Regions from separate parts of the Homo sapiens genome. Here all the other regions are linked to region 1. Evidence: promoter capture Hi-C in 16 types of primary human blood cells and fetal thymus (Javierre and others, 2016). All regions are on one chromosome and are shown on one strand. The core of a region is centred on a gene start or on the middle of the fragment in contact, and the rest is flanking DNA. Distances in the headings are between cores, read along the strand shown.

Region 1 (3,818 bases), core at 1,319-3,818:
CAACAAGAGTGAAACTCCATCTCAAAAAAAAAAAAAATTTAGTTGCGAGCATTGGCAGCATCTTTAAGTACCTTCATTCTGTAAGGTTCAACATCAGTGTTTCCTTCTCTGCTCTTCTTTTAAGCTTCCCTTGCTCTTTTCTCATAACAGCAAACATAATCATAATCATCGCTGTTTACCAGGAATTGTTCCAAGTGCTTCAGAGGCACTAACTCATGTACAGCCTTGAACAACTCTATGAAGTAGGTAATATTTCTTATGCCTACTTACAAATGACAAAACTGAGGCATAGGGAGGTTAAGTGAGTTGCCCAAGTCTGCCCAAAAAGACACTGCTAAGACAAACAGAGCAGCCTGGCTCCAGTGGTAACTGTAATACTGTACTGTACACCTAGATTCAAAACTGCTTGTAAACCACTAGAGGGCATGGGTTGTGCCCATCTTTCTCAAAGCTCCATCCCCAGTACCTGGCAGAGTGTTGAAACTCATGGTTGAATTTTTCACAGGTATGCCTTCCCCTCTACACTGTGCTTCTTGGGGGCTAAGGAAGAAACTGAGACTGCATTTCATCCTTCAGGAGTGAGAAGTTTTTGCTCCAGTCATAAATACTTGCTGAATAAATGAATCTTCTATTTACGAAGTCGAACATAAATATAAAAAGCCCTCCTCGAGGTAACATAATCAGGGCCATTTCTCCAATCCTAACCTGGCAAGAGATCTGAAATCAACAGATGCCTTAAATAATATCTCAAACTTACTATTAGGCAGATAAGTGGCTTAAGGTAAACATTAAATAAAATGTTAAAGCTGCCCTTCACTACATGAGTACTGCTCCCTTTAAGAGAGCTGTTTTGAGCCACCTCACTAAAAACACAGACTTAGCAAAAGTTTGGATGTGGTTCATTTACTTTAAAGATAAATTACTCGTTTCAGATAATCCATCTAAATAGTAAATCCCCCTTACTTTACTCAAAACAACCAGGAATCTAAAAATTAAGTTTACTCTGAGTAAGGGAACCACATTAGACAATGCTAAGGATTAACTACAGAGTATTTAAAAGAGTAATTTCAAACTGCAGCCATCTCTGAAATTACTTATACAGGTACTAGACAGTCAATCTCAGCATCCGGTAGGCTTTCCACTAAACAGACCACAATCCTACTATGGTTATCATCTCAACTCAGAACAATTTCTTGGTCCCTTATGTATCCCATGATCTTCGCTTATATATTTTGCACACTCTGCATTTTTAAAATGCATCTCAAAACCTATTGATTTTTTGATGGGTCGCTATTTTGGAAGATTAGCAAGAATAGAAACTATTTTAAGTTAACTGCAATTTGTCACTTCTTTCAATACAAACCTGCTTAACTCTTTTGTCTTTTCTATCGTGACCCAAATTATTTTCTGAGGCTTAGAAAAGTACATATAAGACGAAAAATTCCTTTCTAAATATCAATTCCGTCGCCATCAGGAAATGTCAGAAACTTTGTCTTTTTAAAAATAAAAGCGTCAACTCTTTAAAAACTTCAGTACCTCAAAGGAAAGCTGCACTGTTAACACTGAAGGAGGGCTGGGTGATTTCTGAACATCCGCATTAAAGAAATATGCTCTCCAAACCTAGTAATTCCTGCGGAGGCCACACCTTCTAACCTTCTCGTAATCCACTAATCAAATCGGGAGCATCTGAAAACTGCTACCAGCCAAAGTAAAATGACAGGTATGTCATCCTCAAACAATCCAAAACCGGGTCGGGGAGCCCAGACGGCTAGCCGGGGCCCAGGCTGACCCCCGGGCGCTCCTGGAAGAGCGACTCTAAGGAAACACACCTCCCGCGCGAGCCTCTTCCTTCCTAGAGTGACGGGGGAAGGGGACACCAGGGGCAGAAACACACCCAAACCCCACTTCAAATCCTGCCCCACCGCTTCTCCTTCCAAAACAGCCGCGCCACTGCTGAGCCCGCAGGCGATTCGGGGGCGCCGGGAGAAGAGAGCGAAGGGCGGAAAGCGAACTTGGGCGTTACTCCGGGCGTCTCCCTCCCCCAGCGGAACCTGGGCGCGCCGTTTCCTCACGGACGCGAGATTTTCCCCCCCGATCGCCACCCCAGCCCGCCTGGGGCCGCCCTCGCCCACCGTCCCCTCAGCCAGCCAGGGCCCGGCCCAGGCCTCGCCGCCGCCCGCCCTCCCCGGCCGCTCCCCGCGGACTGCCAGGCCACCGCGAGGCCGGGCCACTCACATCCGTCTGCGTCCTCCTGCAGGTCCTCCTGAAGCAGCGAGAGGTCTGCGCCGAGGGGAGAGAAGAAAGGCCCGGTCAGCGCCCCGGGGCCCGGCGCGACGCCCCCCCCCCGCCCGCCTCCCCCCCGCCCCGGGGGCGCCTTCCCGCGCCGGGACCCCACGCCGGCCCCGGCCCGGCAGCCACTCAGGGCTGCGGCGGAGGGCGGGTGGGCTCGAGGAGCCGCCGCCGCCCGGAGAACAGGGGGCCACGTACCCGCCATCTTGTGGTCGCCCCCTCCTCCGCGGCCGCCCGGGGAGCCGGGGCTACATGGAGCGGCGCGAGCCGGGGAGCCGGTGGACGCGCGCGGGAGGGGCGGCGGGGAGGAGGAGGGCCGGGCTGGCGGGGGCGCGCGCGCGGGGCGGGCCGAGGGCCCGGGCCTGCCGCGGGCGGCGCGGCTCCCGGCCGCCCGGGCCCCCGGCCGCGCCCCGCCCCGCCCCGCCTGCCCCTCCGCGCGGCTCCCGGGCGACCGGCGCTCCCGCCTCCCGCCTTTCCCGCTGCTTGCCGGGTCCCGGCCCGGCGACGCGCGCTCACACCCTCCTCCCGAGCCGCCCTCACGCCGAGCGCTGCGGACGGGGGCGCGCAACCTGCCGCCGGCCGGGACCCTGCGGCGAGTGCCGGAACCCGGCCGGGCGGGGCCTCCCGCGGCCCGGCCGCTTTATTGGGTCACCGGCCTCGCCCACCGCCCTGCCAGCCGCAGCCATCTCGGCGGGCGCGCCGCTCGCAGCCAGCGCCCCATCCCCAGGCCTGCACGTACGTCGTCGGCGATCCGGGGCCGGGGGCGGCTCCGAGGTCGTCGGGGCCGGGGTCCCACCTCCTCTTGGAGGAAGCGCCGCCTCCCCACCCGCCCGGGGCCCTCGCCAAGTGGCTGCTAACAAAGCCCAGGGCCCGGCTGCGGGATGGTTGACTGACAAAGTCATGCCTGCCTAGCCAGCTTCCTCGTGCAGCACGGTGAAGGCTGGGGCGCCGGGTTTTTACTCCCACGTCCTGCCAACTCGAGCTGACAAGGCGGGCAATCCACCAGCGGGAGCGTTGGCAGGCCCGGGGTCAGATCCTGATTCAGCCAGTTAATTGGTAGGAGTGGGGCCCATTTGTAGAATGAAGGTGATAACTGCCTCGTGGGGTTATTGGCATTAAATGAAGAATGTAGGGAACCTAGCATGGTTCTTGATGTCTAGGAGGTGCTCGGTGAAGGGTGCCTATGATTCGCTTTGTCTTCTAAATACTTTTGGCAGCACTTGAGGTGTTAAAGTCTGTATCCCAGACTTTATTAGTCTTGTTGTTTTACGTGACTTAAGCGATTAGCTCAAACGCCCAAGTACAAAATGGGGCTAAACCCAGGTTTTCCGACACGATTCTACCTCCATGGCTCTATCTCCAGCTCCACCCAAGGCCTCCAAAATGGTGTTCTCCTAAAGTGACCAACAAAACACCAAGCTGTGTCATGGTGCCACTTTGGCGATGTGGTCTCTTAGGAGAGGGAATTCTAAGTAGTTAATTAGCTTGTTCCTTTCTACGTTGTAGTCTTGACCAAGGACAATGTGTTG
Region 2 (4,135 bases), core at 982-3,481, 140 kb after region 1:
TAACTCATCCCCTTTGCCATGTGATGCCCTGCTCCACCTTGGGACTCTACAGAGTCCTCACCAGCAGGAAGGCCCTCACCAGATGCAGCTCCTCAACCTTGGACTCTCAGTCTCTGTAGCCATAAGAAATAGATTACTTTTCTTTATAAATTACTCAGTTTCAGGTACTATAAATAACAGAAAATGGATGGAGACAGATACCTTGGCTCTGAGCTTTTTTCTTCCTTGGCTTTTGAAGGCCTCTCCTGGTCCAGTGTGGATTCTGTAAAGCTTTTTTGAAGGTCTTTTAGCAATGAAGAAAGTATGTACTAGGAGATGAAGGCATGGGAATTGGCTCTAACCCCATTTCTACAAGTAGCGCGACTGTGAATTGTGGTGGGGCTCAAGTTCTTAATGTGTAAAATGGGAACGATGATACCTCCCAGAGTCATCAGAAGATCAAATACAACCATGAACGTGTTTGTGCTCTACGAGCTGTAATTCCTAAAAGATAGGTAGGTTAAGATGAAGAAAAGGCATTGTTGAGTTTCTCATGAACTTCTGATGCAAGGCGTGTTCTAGTGTATCATGCGTAAGGAATCTTTTCCAAGCCCGAGAAAAACTATCCGGTGCCAAGTGCATCACCACTGGGCATAAGTAGTCCCACCCAAGACAGGAGGGGTGCAGGGCTCCTGCCACTCTGCGTCATGAAGAGGAATTGAAAACAAAACTCCATCCTGTTGAAACCTTGAGGTCTAGCACTATATCTTGTCCTTGTTTGTGCATCTTACGTGCTTATGCAATAAGGTACTCTCAGCCCTCAGTATCTGTGAGTTCCATGTTTGTGGACTTAACAACTTTGGATTTCAAATACTGGGAAAAAAATTGTGTCTGTACTGAACAAGTACAGACTTTTTTCTCTTTTTTTTGAGATGGAGTCTCACTCTGTCACCCAGGCTGGAATGCAATGGCACGATCTTGGCTCACTGCAACCTCTGCTTCCTGGGTTCAAGAGATTCTCCTGCCTCAGCCTCCTGAGTAGCTGGGATTACAGGTGCCCGCCACCACACCCGGCTAATTTTTGTATTTTTAGTAGAGACGGGGTTTCACCATGTTGGTCAGGCTGCTCTCGAACTTCTGACCTCAAGTGATCCACCTGCCTAGGCCTCCCAAAGTGCTGAGATTACAGGCGTGAGTCACTGCACCCAGCCCAGACTTTTTTCTTGTAATTATTCCTTAAACAATATGGCATAACAACTATTTACATAGCATTTATGTTGTATAGGTATTATAAGTAATCTAGAGATGATTTAAAGTGTACAGGAGGATGTGCATGGGTTATATGCAAATACTATAACATTTTATATCAGGACTTGAACATTCTCAGATTTTGGTATCTGCAAGAGGTCCTGGAACCAATGCCCCCAGGATACCGAGGGACAACTGTATGTACTGTTGAATCTCCAATGTCTAACACAGTGCCTGGTGTGGCCTAGACATGGAATATGTGTTTAGTGAGTGGAAGAATAAAGGCATTACCATACCTGCTTGTCTCTCTGGCACTTGTCACAGGATTGCAAGCCCAGATGGTGTTTGTGAAGAGGCAGGAGTAGGTACAGTATGGAGGTCTACAGCTTGGGTTTCTGAGGCACAGACCAGGTTTTCCCAACTGTTTTCCCAGCCTGTTTTCCCAACTGTAAGGCGTCACACTAGTAAGTCTGTCATAGAATTAGATTGAAGATTAAATGAGGTGATGCAAATGAAAAGAGTCTAGCATACAGGAAAGCTTAACAGAATGTTAACTATCATCACCATCATTACTAATAACATGATTAGTGGTCTTAATAATTCATAGATATTCATGATGTGGAACTTGGAATCTCATTAGCTCCGTTTTGTCTTGATGTCTGTGACTGCCTTCTCTTGACTTTTCCCTTAGTCACCATTTTTTACTGCATTTTCAACCCAACTGGCCACATGTGCCTGCTTTGTAGTCCAGGTTCCCATCAGTGCCCTTGGCCTTACCCTCTGTGAGCAGGAGCTTCGTACTCTCTAGCAAGGTTTCAGATTAGTTTTCTGTGCTGGAGGAGTTGGAGGCATTTTTGGTAAGCTAAGGCTGTACTTGAGGACTAATGTCACGCTGTCAATTTTAGCTCATTGCTGTGATATCCAGCATAGCAGTAAGGAGCTGATCTGCAGTCACTTGCCCTCCTCTTTGAGCTTCAGCTCTTCTTGGGCTGGGGAACAGTTGAGGACACTGTCCAGGAACCAGAGACTGAATTTCCATGGCCTCATGGCAGCAGTACATGGATTTAGGTTGTTACCAGGAGGTTTGTCCACATGTGAGGCTGTCTCTGTTTTCATTGTCAGTCCCAGCCGTCACACCCCCTCTCTCCTTTGAATGAATGAAAGATGCTAGCGTGCCTCATCTCTGACCTCAGGAGGCCTGGACAATGGAAGAGGAAGTGGGGGCTTTTGCTGCCCTCTGCTCAGAGGCTGCAATGTGGCGTGGATTCTTCTGGCAGCTGTGGTTTAGGCTGCCTTGTGTTTCCTGGTAAAATTTCTTAAACTAAGAGTAATATTTTAGCATTTTTCTCCAAAGAGCATAGATTGAAGATGAGGGCTTAGTAATTTCCCTTGAGTTGGAAATTCATTGATGACTTTTATTTATATTTTGTAATGTCTGTTAAATACTTGCAGAAGTGCTGGATGATTGGAGAAGCTTTAAACCATGAGAAGGTCATGTGAGCATGGTAGTTGTGGGGATGCAGTAGATAGGGAGTTAGGGTTTTCTCAAACTCTGTACTCCCTCCCTTGCTTCCACATTCCTTTCCTCATGCAGTGCGATCAAGTATAGACCCTGATATAGTTAACCTTCATGAGTATAAGACAATTCCTAATACATCATGAGTCAAAAACCATTATTATTTAACTAGAACAGTGTAGAGTCAGGAAAGCAGGTAAGTTGTGGGCAGACTGTAATATCCCCAGCTTATAAATAATGTGGAAGTGTATTGACTGCTTGCTCTTCTCTGTACAGTTTGCAAGTGTGCATATATCTCATTTGATTAAATCACATCTGTTGTAATCTAGTGCCCTGATTAAGAGATTACAGCAGTTAACTGTATTGCACAGGACCTTGGCTTGGCAGTCGGCAAAGCCTTGAGCATTAATTCATATTTGTGAGTGGTCTGAGGATGCTGACTTTTCAAATTTATTATGGTTGGGATTTATGAACTGTTTCTTTTGTCTGCTCTATAGAAGTGAGCATGGAATGTAAGCCAAGCTGTCATTGTGGAGTCTTAGTGTTGATACGATAGACTCTGGTACTTTAAATCAGGCCACTGTCATCTATGATAATGCTTGGCACGTAGTAGGTGCTCAATAAAAATGCAGCAAATGAATGAACAGCTCCTAAATGGCCTTTGTTTCCAGTTTTGCTTTCCTCCAGTCCTCTTAAAATTCCACCACTGTGTGGTCTCATTGGCTCCCATTGCCCTCAGAACAAAGTTCAAACTCCCTAACGAAGTAACTGATGGTGCCCTTGGCTCCAGTTGTATAAGTTTAGGAGTCTGTTCTGATTGATTGGTGCCTTTCTGCACTATGGGTTTAGCTGACATGCTCCTACCAGAGTTTACGTCTTAGCCTGCAGTACATTCATTCCTCTCTTGTTTCTGGGTTATTTCTCCTTGGTGGGCATGTCAGTATGAGTTGGCGTTCAGTCAGGAAGCAGAGCTACTCTGAGTGTTATGGGAAAAGGAATTTATTACAGTAATCCCACTTAATACCAGTGTGGGTGGCTGGGGAAGGGGATGCCTGGGAGTCAGAGCCCGAAGATCAGAGAAACATCTCAAAACAGCAGCACCCGGCATGGTGGATGGTTGTGGCTCTCAAGGAAGCTCTGAGAAGCCAGAGGTGCCCAGCAGGGAAGCCGGCCTGCAGTGGGGACATGGAGCAGGTGCCTGCGGGCAGCCACTGCTCTGCGTAGCTCCTGCCTCTACACCCTACATTGGGAGGACCGCTGTTGGGAGAAGAGTCAGACACAGAAGAGAGGAGTGGGGACAAGTGGGGCTCTGCTGGGAACCTTGTCATCTCTGTGTGCTAAAGACCTTCAGAGAGTAATGCCCAGTCTTTACTTCCTGCAGATTCCTTTTTT
Region 3 (4,048 bases), core at 568-3,067, 190 kb after region 1:
TTGACCTCCTGGACTCAAGCAATCCTCCTGCCTTAACCTCCCGAGTAGCTGGGACTATAGGCACCAGCCACTATGCCTGGCTAATATTTTTTGTTTGTTTTTTGTTCAGAGACAAGGTCTCACTATACTGTCCAGGCTGGGATGACTGTGCTTTCTACCAATGCAAACTGAGATCCCGGCAAGGGAAATATTCCCTTCCTCCATGCCCCTAGTAACTCTCTTGAAAGAGAAAACTGAGTGATGATTGTGTGGGGAGGAGGCAGGCCTGGAGCTTGAAGATAGGGTTTATGCTGTTGAAGTGAGATAAACAGCTGTGGTGAGGGCCATGCCTGCTGAGCTCCTTTAAGGAGAAGCCCCAGGAATCCTTCATTAAGCACTTTACAGCTGAAGAGTTTCATTGATATTTGAAAATTGGTGCTGGAAACTACAAAAGCAAAGTGTGAGCAGAGGTATTGGAGAGGGGCATGAGGGGACCCTGACGGCAGCTGTGCAGGTGGAGCAGGGACTGCCTCGGTCCACAGACGTGGCCCCCAGAACTGTCGTGCCATTTGCGGGGGTTGTGTCCTGTAAGAAAATAGGAATCTAGGTGCAGAACAGCCCTCCTGGGTGTCAGAATGCCAGCGACAGGAGAGAAGGAGGAAGGACATGTTCATATACGAAGATACCTTTCGGGAGTTCTTAGGGAAACACTGTAAACAGCTCTGCCCTGAGCCCGGGAGGTGGCCATGCTGGCAGTGAGGGATGTGGCCTGGGCCGTGGGAACACAGAGGCGGCCAGAGGGGAAAGCCTCAGAGCTGCGTGGACAGGCTTCTTCTGCTTACACACGGGCTTCTGCCCTGCTCTTGCCCCTCGGGGGTTCTTTTGTCACTGGAGACCCTGCTGTTGCCCTTTGCTCTCCAGTGCGTGTCCCCTTCTTCCATATGCCCCCTCCTTGGTGGGGACAGGCTGCTCTGGGAGGTACAGTGACTGCGCTAGATGAACACCTTCCCAGGTCAGGCAATGACATTTTGCTGATGTGTGTTTTAGTCTGGGATGCCCTGAGTAGCTTCTAATTATGAGGCACTGTCTGTGCCTCTTGGGTGGAGGCCAAGTTTCCATTCTGCCAACTCTCAGAGGACGTGGGGCCAAAACACAGAGCCGCTGAGACAGGAGTTTCAGGGGGTCTGGAGGTGGATTTGCCGAGAATCTAAGAAGCACTTCAACTAGTTTTGTTTCCTCTCCTCCCTTCCACTCCCTTTCCCTTCTGTCCTCTTCTTTTCTTTTATGGAGCTAATTTCCTACGTCTGGCTAAAATACAGTAGAAAAGCCCTATAAAGCCTATGAGTGTCACTCTTGAATAGGAAATTAGCAAATAGACTTTGTTTGGTAACAGAAGAACCTGTTCCTGAGGCGCTGACAGCCTGTCCTAACAGAGGCAGCTGGGCTGCAGTGAGCACGGACCTGTGGTAGGAAGACCTCTGCATCCAGAGTGGCCCGGTGGAAGGTGCCAGACTCCCCCTCACTCCAAAAAAAAGAGGAGGCTTTTTGAGGGCAGGGACCTTGTTACCTTCTTCACTTTCTTTTTTTGTTTCCAGTTGTTGCTGTAACAGATTGCCACACGCTCAGTGGCTTAAAACAACACAGATAGACTCCCTTAGAGCTATGAAGGTCAGAAGTCAGAAATGGGTCTCATGCCTGTGGTCCCAGATACTTGGAGGCTGAGATGGGAGGATCACTTGAGCCCAGGAGTTCAAGACCAGCCTGGGCAATATAATGAGACTCCCATCTCTACAAAAAGTTTTTAAAAAATTAGCCAGGTGTGGTGACATGCAGCTGTAGTCCCAGCTACTCAGGAGACCGAGACAGGAGGACCACTTGAGCCCAGGAGGTTGAGGCTGCAGTGAGCCGAGATTGCACCACTGCACTCCAGCCTGGGCAACAGAATGAGACCTTGTCTCAAAACAAAAACAAAAACATAAAAAGATTAAAAAAAAAAAAAGAAATAAGTATCACTGGAATAAGATTAAAATATCTGCAGACCTTAATCCTTCCTGGAGGTACAAGGGCAGAATCTTGTTTCCTTGCCTTTTTCAGAGACCACTCGCATTCCTTGGCTTGTAGCCCCTTCCTTTGTCTTCAGAGCCAGCAGAGTAGCATTTTAAATCTCTCTCCCACTCCCCTGCCTCTCTCTTTCACTGTTGAGGAGCCTTGTGAGGACACTGGGCCCACCCAAGGAATGCAAGATAATGTCCTCATATGAAGGTCAGCTGATGAGCCCTATTCCACCTCCCATGTAACCTAACATAGTCACAGGTGATGGGGATTAGGACATGGACCTCTTTGGGGGACACTATTCTGCCCACCACACTCCAGTTTCTCTGCTGCTCAGAACAGTGCCTGCCACATACTGAGCGTTCAAACAGTGAGATACTGTTTGTTGAATGAATGAATACATTTGATGTAAACCTGTGTCTTAATTATATCAACTGAAGCAACGTTTCATTTCAGAGAAGCAACACAGGAATGGAAAATGCATGGAATTTGGAGTCAAGACCTGTGTTCAAAGTCTTTTCCACCATTTAAGAGCTGTGTGTCGACTGGGCGCAGTGGCTCACGCCTGTAATCCCAGCACTTTGGGAGGCCGAGGCGGGCGGATCACGAGGTCAGGAGATCGGGACCATCCTGGCTAACATGGCGAAACCCCGTCTCTACTAAAAAAATACAAAAAAAGTAGCCAGGTGTGGTGGCAGGCATCTGTAGTCCCAGCTACTCGGGAGGCTGAGGCAGGAGAATGGCGTGAACCCGGGAGGCGGAGCTTGCAGTGAGCCGAGATGGCGCCAGTGCACTCCAGCCTGGGCAACACAGAGAGACTCCGTCTCAAAAAAAAAAAAGAAGAGCTGTGTGTCTTTGGGCAATTCACTTAACCATGCTGAGCCTCAGTTTTCTCATCTGAATAACAGGAACAACTCTGTCTTCTCTCCCTGGTTTCACAGGGTTATTGACTTTTATTACATGCATTCAGTCATTAAATATTTGTCGAGTCCTTGCTATGGTCCAGATAGGGATTCAGGGAAGGGTTCTCAGGGAGGGTGGCAGTTGATTAAAGGTGTGACAGAAGTGAGGGAGGGGCCTTGAGGATGCTGGTGGAGGAGGGTCCAGGCTGCTAGAAGGCGTCAGGGAAGGTGCGGAGGCTCGGTGGGCCTGCCTCTGTGTTTAGGGAGCAGCGAGAAGGCCGGGGCTGGAGACAAGCAGGGGAGGGGCCCAAGAAGGGACCAGGGCGGGCCCAAGAAGGGACCAGGTCCCACCCAAGATGCCACAGAATGGAGCTTGGCTTTTATACTAAGTTTGAAGGATTCTGAACAGGGAAGTGAAACAATTGGATTTATATAGGAAGAAATCAATCACTCTGATGTTCAGTTAACATAAGATGATGTCAAGTATTTGCTTCAAAAGACTCCAGGGGGTAGGAATGGAGCGGGAGGTGAGACGAGGTAGAAAGGAAGCCAGTGGTCCATGTGTTAGTGGTGATCTTGAAGTCAGGGGATGAGAAGATGGAAGTCCATTATTCTAGTCTCTCTTCTTGTGGATATGCTTGAAAATTTCCACAGTGAAAGTTAAAAATAAATACATTCTGTGGTCAGTGTAAATAAATATCATAATCCAGCACTTCAAAACAGGATCTCTCTGGTGGCTGTGTGGCCAGTTTGGAGCTCACTGGATATCTGAAGGCTCTTGTGGAAACTTTGGACGTCCAGTCAAGGCAAGACGAACTTTGCTCGGACAGGAGGGAGGTGCGGCTGCGTGAGAGCTGGGGCTGGGTCTGAAGGCCGTGCTGGCTAGCCTGGGTTGGCACACAGCAAAGTGCAGAGTCTAGGGCTCTAGGCACATGGGGGTAAATGACACCGTATGTTTTTGAGTGCATCTGGTGTGATGGGGCATGTTCGGAGGCCTCCTCAGGGCTGTGCAGCGAAGATACTGTCCCACACAGTGGGCTCTTGTCTTGAACATGGTACGCTTACTGTGACCTTGAGGCTAAGGATGGGAGAGACCAAACCAGCCTGGGCAGAGC

Evidence for each region. The method cuts DNA at HindIII sites, captures the fragments that hold promoters and counts their contacts. A CHiCAGO score of 5 or more calls a contact.
Region 2: a fragment that was not itself captured here is called in contact with the fragment with the promoter of PPP4R1 in region 1 in 2 of 17 cell types (neutrophils and endothelial precursors); the score reaches 7.2 in neutrophils.
Region 3: a contact is called between a fragment that was not itself captured here and the fragment with the promoter of PPP4R1 in region 1, in 1 of 17 cell types (neutrophils). The highest score is 8.7, in neutrophils.

The regions. Positions count from the first base shown.
Region 1 is chr18:9,611,991-9,615,808 of GRCh38, forward strand. It overlaps PPP4R1 (protein phosphatase 4 regulatory subunit 1), which reads right to left and starts at 2,569. Exons shown (of 20, transcript NM_001042388.3): 1 at 2,488-2,569; 2 at 2,236-2,280. The coding sequence starts at 2,494. PPP4R1-AS1 (PPP4R1 antisense RNA 1) reads left to right here and starts at 2,817. Exons shown (of 3, transcript NR_110773.1): 1 at 2,817-3,024. RefSeq lists an enhancer at 1,686-1,765 and silencers at 2,036-2,285, 2,386-2,655, 2,756-3,265. The HindIII fragment of the contact is 7,461 bases long and covers 123-3,818 here.
Region 2 is chr18:9,753,390-9,757,524 of GRCh38, forward strand. The region is part of intron 1 of RAB31 (RAB31, member RAS oncogene family); the gene reads left to right. Among named protein-coding and RNA genes, the nearest start is that of RAB31, 47 kb to the left of the region's middle. The HindIII fragment of the contact is 936 bases long and covers 1,764-2,699 here.
Region 3 is chr18:9,803,319-9,807,366 of GRCh38, forward strand. All of the region lies in intron 3 of RAB31 (RAB31, member RAS oncogene family), which reads left to right. Among named protein-coding and RNA genes, the nearest start is that of TXNDC2, 81 kb to the right of the region's middle. The HindIII fragment of the contact is 6,092 bases long and covers 1-4,048 here.